2 separate regions of the Homo sapiens genome follow, and region 1 is linked to region 2. The links are contacts of gene promoters, found by promoter capture Hi-C in blood cells and fetal thymus (Javierre and others, 2016). All regions are on one chromosome and are shown on one strand. Each heading gives the region's core, a stretch centred on a gene start or on the middle of the fragment in contact. The rest is flanking DNA. Distances are from core to core; before and after follow the strand shown. Region 1 overlaps ERICH5 (glutamate rich 5). Region 2 holds the start of MATN2 (matrilin 2).

Evidence for each region. The method cuts DNA at HindIII sites, captures the fragments that hold promoters and counts their contacts. A CHiCAGO score of 5 or more calls a contact.
Region 1: a fragment that was not itself captured here is called in contact with the fragment with the promoter of MATN2 in region 2 in 2 of 17 cell types (megakaryocytes and endothelial precursors); the score reaches 7.5 in megakaryocytes.

Annotation. Positions count from the first base shown.
Region 1 is chr8:98,067,455-98,073,066 of GRCh38, reverse strand. All of the region lies in intron 1 of ERICH5 (glutamate rich 5), which reads right to left. Among named protein-coding and RNA genes, the nearest start is that of ERICH5, 5.7 kb to the right of the region's middle. RefSeq lists a silencer at 2,191-2,300. The HindIII fragment of the contact is 1,104 bases long and covers 3,039-4,142 here.
Region 2 is chr8:97,865,832-97,871,331 of GRCh38, reverse strand. It overlaps MATN2 (matrilin 2), which reads right to left and starts at 2,268. Exons shown (of 19, transcript NM_002380.5): 1 at 2,045-2,268. RefSeq lists an enhancer at 2,668-3,167. The HindIII fragment of the contact is 10,066 bases long and covers 284-5,500 here.

The sequences.
Region 1 (5,612 bases), core at 2,341-4,840, 200 kb before region 2:
GTTGAACTTCATACCCATACATTAATGCAAGGTGTACAGGTAACCAGAACCTCCCATAACATCTAGTCTACAGGTGCTATACCTTTAGATTAAGTACTAAGTAAAGGAAATTAGCAAAAAAGAAACTCTGTGGTTTATATCAGAGTCTTGAGAAAATGGGAAGAGGCAGAAACAGGCACACACACAAAAATCACCTTACAGAAAAAAAATAAAAGACAAAAGGTTCATTATAATTATCATTAACAGTGAGGAAAAGAAATAAGCAAAGAGAATGTTTTAGGGAGAACATTTCAACAAAAGTCCTTGCTGGGGTGGCTGAAGGCAGATGTTATCTCTAAGCAAAAGAAACTACTAGTGAAAATGACAGAGCAGCTGGAATGCACATCCCAACACTTCCTTTTTAATTTTAATTTTAATTTAATTTTTTTTTAGATGGAGTCTCACTCTGTCACCCAGGCTGCAGTGCAGTGGCACAACCTCGGTTCACTGCAACCTCTACCTCCCAGGTTCAAGTGATTTTCCCGCCTCAGCCTCCTGAGTAGCTGGGACAACAAGCGTGTGCCACCATGCCTAGCTAATTTATTTTGTATTTTTAGTAGAGATGGGGTTTCACCATGTTGGCCAAGCTGGTCTCCAACTCCTGACCTCAGGTGATCCTCCTGCCTTGGCCTCCCAAAGTGCTGTGCTCACAGGCATGAGCCACTGCACCCGGCCACCAACACTTCCTGATCCTTTTCAATGTCATGACATACACAGAATATGATATTTGTGCATCACACTTCAACAAATGGAGGAAGCTGCTTCCAGATGGCTCAGGCTGTCAGGATCCCACCTGGCTGCCCTAAAGGCTAGGAGAAATGCTGGCATGGCTATAAACCATTCTCACAGGCTGGGAAACTCTGATATAAACAACTTAGGTAGTACTAAATCATGCACTCCAGCATTGACTGTCTTATTTCACCCACCTTCATAAGGTTTAATTCCTAGGGGGTTTTAGCTGCTAAAAACCATGTGGGGCTGGGCACGGTAGTTCATGCCTGTAATCCCAGCACTTTGGGAGGCTGACTGAGGTATTAGGGTTGCTTGAAGCCTGGAGTTTGAGACCAGCCTGGGCAGCATAGTGAGAACCAGTCTCTACCAAAAAAAAAAAATAAAATAAAACTTAAAAAATAAAATAAAAACAATGTGGATTGTTGTTTTTTTCAATATTCATCCTTAAAGGACAAAGCTCAGACACCCTTGATTATATACAATGAATGAACTTGAGAGCCCGAAGGCAATTCCCAAGAAGTGGTTCAAGGACTGTGAAAAACAGCAATAGCCCTGAGATGGGTGAAGAAGCTTCTGAAGTCATTACAGGACTTTCAAGACATAAACACACCTGGAGAGCTATAGTCTGGCACTTTGCTTTAAAAAAAAATTACAGTGGGGCACAGTGGGTCATGCCTGTAATCCCAGCACCTTAGGAGGCTGAGGTGGAAGGATAATTTGGGTCCAGGAGTCCAAGCTGCCGTGAGCTATGATTGCACCATTGCACTCCAGCCTCGGCAACAGAGCAAGACCCTGTCTCTAAAAAAGAAAAAAAAATTACCTAGTACTACTCACACACACTCTAGGATTAGAAGCCTCATCAAGTTTTTATCAGCTTTGGTGAGACTTTCATTAACCCCCACACGTATTCAGGGTTTCTTTCAACTTGATATTGTAAAACATTAACATAGAAGTGAAACTGTACACATGAGCTGGTTGTGGGGCCACCTTACAGAAGCATGATTTTTTCTTTTTTTTTGAGAGGGAGTTTTGCTCTTGTCACCCAAGCTGGAGTGCAATGGCGTGATCTCTGCCCACTGCAACCTCCACCTCCCAGGTTCAAGAAATTCGCCTGCCTCGGCTTCCCGAGTAGCTGGGATTACGGGTCCTAGCTACCACCAGCTGCCACCACGTCCAGAAAATTTTTGTATTTTTAGTAGAGACGGGGTTTCACCATGTTGGCCAGGCTGGTCTTGAACTCCTGACCTCAGGTGATCCACCTGCCTCGGCCTCCCACAGTGCTGGGATTACAGGCATGAGCCACTGCACTCAGCCCAGAAGCATGATTTAATGGCAGACAATCAAGCGTTGTTTTACAGTGCTAACCTTTTCCTGCATAGCTAGGAGGCTCTATACACAACCCGACACTCTTTCTAAGCCCATCTTGGCCAATATTACCTTTCAGTTTCTGGTATTCATTAGGTTCTGATTCCTCCTCTGCTTTTCTGAGTAATACTCTTACCTCCCTGAATCCCCGTCTCTGTCAATCACCCATTCACCCATCCATCTACTCAACAGTTATTGCTTGCTTTTTTTTCTTTTCTTTCATTCTCTTTTCTTTTTCTTTTCTTTTCTTTTTTTTTTTTTTTTTTTTTTGAGATGCAGTTTCACTCTTGTTGCCCAGGCTGGAGTGCAATGGCGCGATCTTGGCTCACTGGTTCAAGCGATTCTCCTGCCTCAGCCTCCAGAGTAGCTGGGATTACAGGCATCAGCATACCAGTAAAAAATTAGCCACCACACCTGGCTAATTTTTTGTATTTTTAGTAGAGATGGGGTTTCTCCATGTTGGTCAGGCTGGTCTCGAACTCCCAACCTCAGGTGATCTGCCCACCTTAGCCTCCCAAAGTGCTGGGATTACAGGGGTAAGCCACTGCGCCCGGCCTCTTTTTTCTTTTCTTTAGAGAGAAGTCTCACTGTGTTGCCCAGGCTGGAGTACAGTGGTGCTTGACCTCCTGATTCTCCCACTACGGCCTCCCAAGTAGCTGGGATTACAGGCTCGAGCGTCCACACTCAGCTGATTGCATATGTTCTATGTGTAAGGCCACACTACAAGTTTCTTGCAGAACTAGGACCAGATCCCAGATGGAACTGGAAGTTGTGAAAAGAACAGGGGCTTTGGAGTCACACACATTAGCCATGTGCCCCAGGTCCATCCATCCATCTAGTAAGTAGGCTTACTAGACCTACTAGCTCTGAGACCAGGGCAAGTGACTTATCTGTATTAAGCTTCGTTTTCTAGCTGTATTTGGTGCAATTAATGTTTGTGTTTTAAGGCTATTGTGAGGATTAAATAAGATCACAAACTAAAGCACCTGAAACCAAGTGCATGCTCCCTCCTTATCTCCTGACTTCTGTCCCATGTGTATGTTTCGATGTGGCTGCACAAATGTCTGAAAGTTTTCTGTTTTAGAAAAAGATTTACTTTATTGTTGATGACAGTGTAAACTGCTTCAAGTCTTACAGAACACATTTAGGCAGTTATCTATCAAAACTTTCAGTGCGTACACCCTTTGACCTAGTAATGCCACTCCTGGGAAACTGTCCTACAGATATACTTGCACACATTCAAAATGATGTAGGCACAAAGGAATTCATGGCAGTCTTGTCTGCAACAGGGAAAGACTGTAAACAAATTAAATGTCCCTCAATAGGGGGGCTGGTTAAATAAATCAAGGAACATATTATTATGCAGGTATAAAAAAGGAGAAAGAAGTTCTCTGCATATAAATGTGGAAAAATCTCCATAGTGTTAGGTGAAAAAAACAAAGTGAGGAACGGTGGGTATAGTACACTACATTTTATAAATAAAGATGAGAGAAGGAAATAATATTTGCAATGCATAAATAAACTTCAAAAGAATATATAAAAAAAAAAACCCTAAAATAATAAGTGTGTATTCACAGGTGTGATTCGAACTAAATAGATGATGAGGATGGGGTGGAAGGTATACTTTTCAGACCTGCCTTTTCCAAATATTTTCACATTTTTGAACCATGTATGTAGTTTTTTTATTCCATTTCAATTAGCCATATGCAATCGCCAGGCCTATCACAAAGACATACCAAATGCTATTTAAGTGCCAGGCTCCAGAAATGACACAAGGCACACATTTGAAAGAAAAAAAATCCCATTTATATAATTTCTATATGCAAGAAAAGCCTATACAAATTAAATTTAATGTTTATGATGTTTGTTCTTCAATTCAAAAGGAAAACTTTTGTCTAGTTAGGACCAGATGACCTAACTAGATGTCAGAGTGTGAAATATTGGGTGAAAACTGAAGGTATGACTGCAGTACAAAGAACAATTCACATAACTGTGAAATTCAAGCTTCATCTGATTGCCTAGGCCGCATGGACAGCAAGCAGCTAGTGAAAGTTCAGGTTAGAACAAACAAATGATTATAGCTGTCAGTGGAAATGTACACATTAACCTAGCAATGAACTTGTCAATAATTACCACCTATTTACTTTGTCCATGTTTGGTGCTTGGGCTGTAACACCTTGGAAAGAAGTCTGCCAAAACAGATCCCATTTATATTAGGAAAGATTCGAGCAGTGATTATCCATGTTAGCAGAGGGCTAGGAACACTGGGAGGAGGGTTTGGATGTGAACGTCTATAGACACCTTCAGGCACATTAAGGTCTGTGGAGTCAATAAAACCTTTGTGTTCAGATTGCATCGGATCCTCAGGACACTCAAAACAACAGAAATTGTCCTAATATTTAAAACTTGCTTCCAAAAACACAAGAAATTCCAAACTCAATCTGTCTAATTATCCTTTGGAATGAAAAGTCTCTTTCCTCACACATTTCAGGGCACGTCATAAAAATCGATGTGTGACTACCACATATTAGGCACTGTTCTACGCTGTGAGGAGCACTAATAATTGTTAACAATCAGAGTCTTCACCTCTGTTCTCCCAAACACACACACCTATCTGGTCAGTCATCTTGGGAGGTGATAGGAAGCAGCTCCGTGAGATTCAGTGTCTAATGGGTCAGGGCAAATGTCCCCACATAATCAGTAGAATAGATTATTCCTGTGCAACCTAATGTCTACCTACTAGTAGCTGCTGTCTGATTTAAATTTATAACATAGGCTGGGCACAGTGGCTCATACCTGTAATCCCAGCACTTTGGGAGGCCGAGGTGGGAGGATCACTTGAGCTTGGAAGTTCAAGACCAGCCTGGGCAACATAGCAAGACCCTGTCTCAATTTTTTAAATAAAAAATAAAATAAATATATAATATTTGTATAACACATTATACTATATATCTTATTTAGGGATTAGACTAATATTTAGAATCATAATAAGGGATTATTCTATCCCTAAATAATATATATAGTATAGGCCACGCGTGGTGGCTCATGCCTATAATCCCAGTACTTTGGGAGGCTGAGGCGGGTGGATCACCTGAGGGCGGGAGTTCGACCAACATGGAGAAACCCTGTCTCTACTAAAAATACAAAATTAGCCGAGTGTGGTGGCACATGCCTGTAATCCCAGCTACTCGGGAAGCTGAGGCAGTAGAATCACTTGAACCCAGGAGGCCGAGGTTGCAGTGAGCCGAGATCATGCCATTGCACTCCAGCCTGGGCAACAAGAGCGAAATGCCGTCTCAAAAAAAAAAAAAGATACATAGTATAATTTGTTGATTGTATTGTATTGATTTCATTGTTTTTAGATAGTGGGTGACCACACACCTAATGGGGATCCAGAGTGATCTGAGGCAAAAACAGATTTAAATCTAGTTAGCAGAAGCTGGTTTAAACATATAGTTTCTTTTTTTTTTTTTTTA
Region 2 (5,500 bases), core at 1,019-3,518:
TCTCTCCCCCTTTTAGTCTCCCCACCTCACTCCTTGCCCTCTCTTAGGTGCCAGTCAGAACTGTTTCTAAATAAACTGTAGAATTATTTTTCCAGAACCTCCAATGGCTCTCTTATTTCAAAGAGCAAACATCTCTCCTTTTCTTTAAATCTCAGGCCACACTTTTAACTACCTTTTGCTAAACAAGGACATATGGCACTCGCTGATAAGAGCTTAGGGCATGACAGCTGCTCGAGGGTGTTTCAGATTTGGACTCTGCTCTGACACCTCCAACAAGCAAGCTTAGGCCTTGGTGGCCCTGGGTTGCCTGGGAACAAGAAACCCCAGAGCCCCGATTTATAGAAGACAGTGTCCTGGTAACTCGGGGGCCTGAGATTGAATTCTATTGGCAGAAATAAAAGTAAAAAGTGTGGACAGATAGGAAAATGCAAGGTGAAGAGCCATAAGTATCTCATTCTCCACAGAGGATTCTAAGTGCCAAGTTTCAGGGACTGAGAGGAAACATTCCAGGTCATAAACCCATGTTGGTATTTTGACATGGTTTTATGAGGTTGGCCCTTTGGGAGCAAGCAGGGAGAACTGCGCCCGTGTGGACTCCTGCATGGAACTACCAGTTGCATACACGTGGCTTATCTGCCACCCTCACGTACCCATGGAGAGCCTCTCTTTCTGAACTGGGGAAGAGGTACATTCACTGCTCATAGCAGCTCCTTGCTATTTCTGCAAAGACAAGCCATGGAACTCACCTAATCTTAGAATGCTCCTGGAAATGTTCTAAGGACTTTACTTGCCATATCTTTTTTTTTTTCTTTTGAGACGGAGTTTAGCTCTTGTTGCCCAGGCTGGAGTGCAATGGCACCATCTCCGCTCACTGCAATCTCTGCCTCCTGGGTTCAACCGATTCTCCTGCCTCAACCTCCCGAGTAGCTGGGATTACAGGCATGCGCCACCAAGTCCGGCTAATTTTGTATTTTTAGTAGAGACGGGGTTTCTCCATGTTGGTCAGGCTGGTCTCGAACTCCCGACCTCAGGTGATCCGCCCGCCCCGGCTTCCCAAAGTGCTGGGATGACAGCCCTGAGCCACCGTGCCCGGCCGCCATATCTCATTTAATCCTCACAGTTCTGTGGGTATTACCATCCTCATTAGACAGATGAGGAAACTGAGGCATACTTGGGTACCTTCAAGTTATCAACCCTGTAAACTTCACAGCTGGGGTTGAAACCCAAGCAGGCTGACCCCAGTCTCTGCTCTCGACCACGGGTCCCTGAAGTCTCTTGACTGCCCCATTCCTTAAAGGCCGATTTTAAGTGTGCTTGGTGCAGATGCATTGTGGCTTCCTGATTTATGACAAATTGAAACTTGGTCAATTGGGTTTGTTCAGGGTGGGCGCGAGTGTCCCTGAGGAGAGCACTTTCCTGTGCCCCCAGTCCTGGAGACCCTACCAGGGACAGTCCCCATTTCTCTGTCCTCTCCCCAAACGGCTCCAAATTGTTCTGGGGTTTCTAGCAACTACCACAAAATGCCTTCCCCTTTCTCTCCCTCTTCCACAATATAGGGAAGCTGGAGGTTTAGCTGCCATAGAGACCCAAGAACAAAATCCAGATGACACGGGCATGAAAATACCAGGTTCCGAAGAGGGAAGGGGGAGCCATCGGCTGTCCGTGGAATAGGAATCACCCTGCATACCCGCTCAACAGGTCTCCCTTTCCCTGGGTCGCGGTGGCCGGGGTCTGGGCGTCCCCGCTGCGTGCCACAGCGCCCCCACGGGGCACTCCGGGGCGGCTGCAGCGCGGCTTGTCCTGCGCAGGGAGCGCGCCCAGCTCTCCCGGCCGAGGGGTCGGGCAGCGCCGCCCTCCCTCTCCCCCTGTCCTCGGAGGGGTCGAAGGCGCCGGGGCCCCGGGGCGCTGGGGGCTGCAGTGCGGGCCTGGGGAGGGCGCCTGCGCGTCGGGCAGCCCAGGCTCGGTATTCTGTCGGTGGGTCGGTCCGCCTGCACTTCGAGGCCGCCCGGCCGCGCAGAGCCGGGGGAAAGCGCGCCGCGCTCACCTGCAGCCGCCGGCGCCTGGGAAGCGAGGCAGGGGCGCAGCCACCCGGGTCTTCCTCGTCGGCCTCTTCGCCTCGCCGAGGGCCGCGGCTCTCCTCGGGGATCGCTCGTGGGAGGCGAGGACGGAGCCCCAGCTTCTGCCTCTGCCTCTGTCTCCGCCGCCGCCGCTTGCTCCAAGTCCCATCCCAGAGCGCTCCCTTCGCTCGCTGGCTGCCTGGGAGGCGCTGGGCAAGGGCGGGCGGCTGGGGAGGCGGTGCCGCGGCGGGGGTGGGGAGCGGGCCGGGCGGAAGGAGGGGTGTCCTCTTTGGGGATGGGGAAGGCGCGGAGAGGGAGCGGCGGCGAGGGCGGCCCCACCCTGTGGGCAGCCCCGGGAGCTGGGCACTCTGGCGGCGCGCCCTGCCTGCTGCCACCTGGCTCCACTCCGTCCGTGCCTGAGCCCAGGCGGGCATCAGACTCCAGGGGTCCGGAGCCGCAGGCACGGAACACAGGCAGCTTTAGGGGCCTGTCGGGTTGGGAGTGCGGGGAGGGGTCTTCTGGGGGAAAGGAGACATGGCAGGAATCTTACATCTAGAACTTGGGGTCATGACCTGCGGGACGCACCCACTGACGCGGGGATGGAGAAAAAAGTGGTGAGAATTGGGCTAATTGATGACAAGCGCCAAGAGCTGTCTTGCCAGTGCCCAGAGCACCCCACCAGTGCCAGTTCATATTAACAGAGCGTCCACTGGCTGGGGACCAGGCCCCGGGATGGGGAGGAGGTAAAGATGCCAGGATGGAGAGGAGACAAAATTCCTACCCCGAGGGAGCAGGGAAAGTCTAGTTCAGACAAGACTTTTGAAATTATGAGCAGAGACATTTGCAACTTTGCAGAATGGAGGAACCTCACCTTGGATGTCCCCATGGAGCCTTGGAGGGATGCAGAAGACAGGATTGGCCAGCGACAGTCAAAGTGGCCGGCACCCCCCTCTACCAGCTCCCCAGTTCCTGGAGGCTGGGGTGAGTGGATGTATAACAGACCAGGACATCTCCTATAAAGCTCCAAAATTCTGTTCCCAAACCACTAGCCAACGCACCCAGTTCAGGTTTTGTGTTTTTGTTTGTTTGTTTGTTTTTTGAGACGGAGTCGCCCAGGCTGGAGTGCAGTGGCGCAATCTTGGCTTACTGCAAGCTCTGCCTCCCGGATTCACGCCATTCTCCTGCCTCAGAGTAGCTGGGACTACAGGCTCCCGCCACCACGGCCGGCTAATTTTTTTTGTATTTTCAGTAGAGACGGGGTTTCACCGTGTTAGCCAGGATGGTGTCGATCTCCTGACCTCGTGATCCGCCCGCCTCGGCCTCCCAAAGTGCTGGGATTACAGGCGTGAGCCACTGCGCCCGGCCCCAGTTCAGGTTTTAACAAGCTACCAGCAGAGGCAGCAGCACTAACTAGTTTCAAAACCTCTGGATGTGCCACAGTCTGATAATTTGGTGCTTTGGGCGGACTTTGTTTTGTAATTAACCATCATTCCTATTTGATGATAGAGTTGATTTCTGAAATATGAATAAACGCCAAAATCAATTCTTCAGAAAAGCTCCAGGAGGGGTAATTAAAATTCCAGCCATGAAGCAAGGGGTTAACATACTCGAGCCATCAGGCAAGTCAATGATACCTTAATACCAAGAAAGAATTGTGGATTCCTGTTCCTTTACCCAGTACCTTAGGCCCACTGGGCACTCTTGGCTGCCTGCACTGATCACAAATAGTTTTTTTGTTATGTCTTTGGGAGGAGGTAGGTGGAGGTCAGAAAGCAGAGGAAAGTCTTCAGGAAATGTTTGGTCTCTGAAGTCTTGGATCCCATAGAAGAAAATTCTTCCTGAGTCTGGGCCAGTGAAAATCCCCTAGGAACTTGGGAAGTTGAGCTACAGTTTATGGAAACTTAAATTTAAAATGTGTTGACTTATTCCAAGACACCAGTGTGATCCAGTAATTTACCAGGAAAACAATAACAATCCCCAAACCCTTCCAAATTGTAAGGAAATTGTAATTTAGTAACTGATTCCAGTGACTCTGGTGTATGCCAATTAAAATGGGTGTTTTCCCCCCAGGGAGTTCTATTGGAATTCTTCAGAATAGTTAATCTATGTACAAATTACACTTGGGGCCAAGTCAAATAGGTTAAATGAGTTGTTCTACCTTGTGGGATGATCTTCAGGTCTGCCAGAAAAAAATGAAGGAAAAGCAAGTTCAATGTCCTGAAATATAAAGGCAGAACAAACAATGAAATGATTTCTGGGTTACCTTCAGGATGAATTGCAAGTTGATAATTAAGACTATAGATTAGGAAAAGGCCAAAATTGCCTTTTCTGCTAGAGGTCCTGCCATGTGCTAGATGTACAGAGAACCTTATTCAGAAGTGTGGGTTTAAGATTTTTAGTTCTGGGACTGGGCGATGGCTCACACCTGTAATCCCAGCACTTTGGGAGGCTGAGGCGAACTGATCACTTGAGGTCAGGAGTTCTAGACCAGCCTGGTCAACATGGTGAAACCCCGTCTCTACTAAAAATACAAAAGGTAGCCGGGTGTGGTAGTGGGCGCCTATAATCCCAGCTACTCAGGAGGCTATAATCCCAGCAACTCAGGAGAATCGCTTGAACCTGGGAGGCGGAGGTTGCAGTGAGCTGAGATTGTGCCACTGCACTCCAGCCTGGGCAACAAAACTAGAGTCCATCTCAAAAAATAAAAATTAAGAATAATAATAATAATAATAATACAAAAATTATCTGGGTGTAGTGGCATACGCCTGTAATCTCAGCTACTCGGGAGCCTGAGGCTGGAGAATCACTTAAACATGGGAGGCAGAAGTCGCAATGAGCCGAGGTTGCACCACTGCACTCCAGACTGGGTGACAGAGTGAGACTCTGTCCCAGAAAGAAAAAAAACAGATTTTCAGTTCTTATGTGGGCACTCATGTAAGCAGACAAAAATGAGGTATGTATTATCTGAGAACTCCTAAGAGCTCACAAGTTAACTGGAATTGGTATCTGTTTAAACTAATCACAACCTGAGTAGCTATACTTGGGATCAACTCTCAGTTCTCGATCTCCACGTAGTCTATTGTGGAGTAAGGATTTGGGTCAGGAGAGTCATTTGACCCAGGCCTCACACTCGTGAACAGCCTCGAATATAGACTTTAAACATAAGCATCCCTTTGCTCCTTGTAAACATTAGAACTTTTTGTTTTGCATTAGAATCCTTCTTACTTGAGACCTAGCTATCTGGCCTAGAGGGCAGATTGAAATGAGACTGTCAAATCCAAAGGGGACCAGAGTACAGTATAAGGAAACTGAAGAAGAAACAGGTTGCCTCACGGACCTATAAACCTAAAATAAAGCTCTACTGAATGCATGAGGAGACATGTAAAATTGCAATGTCATCTCACGTGCACTGTTTCCCTAGGTGACAGACAGTGTTTGAGTCC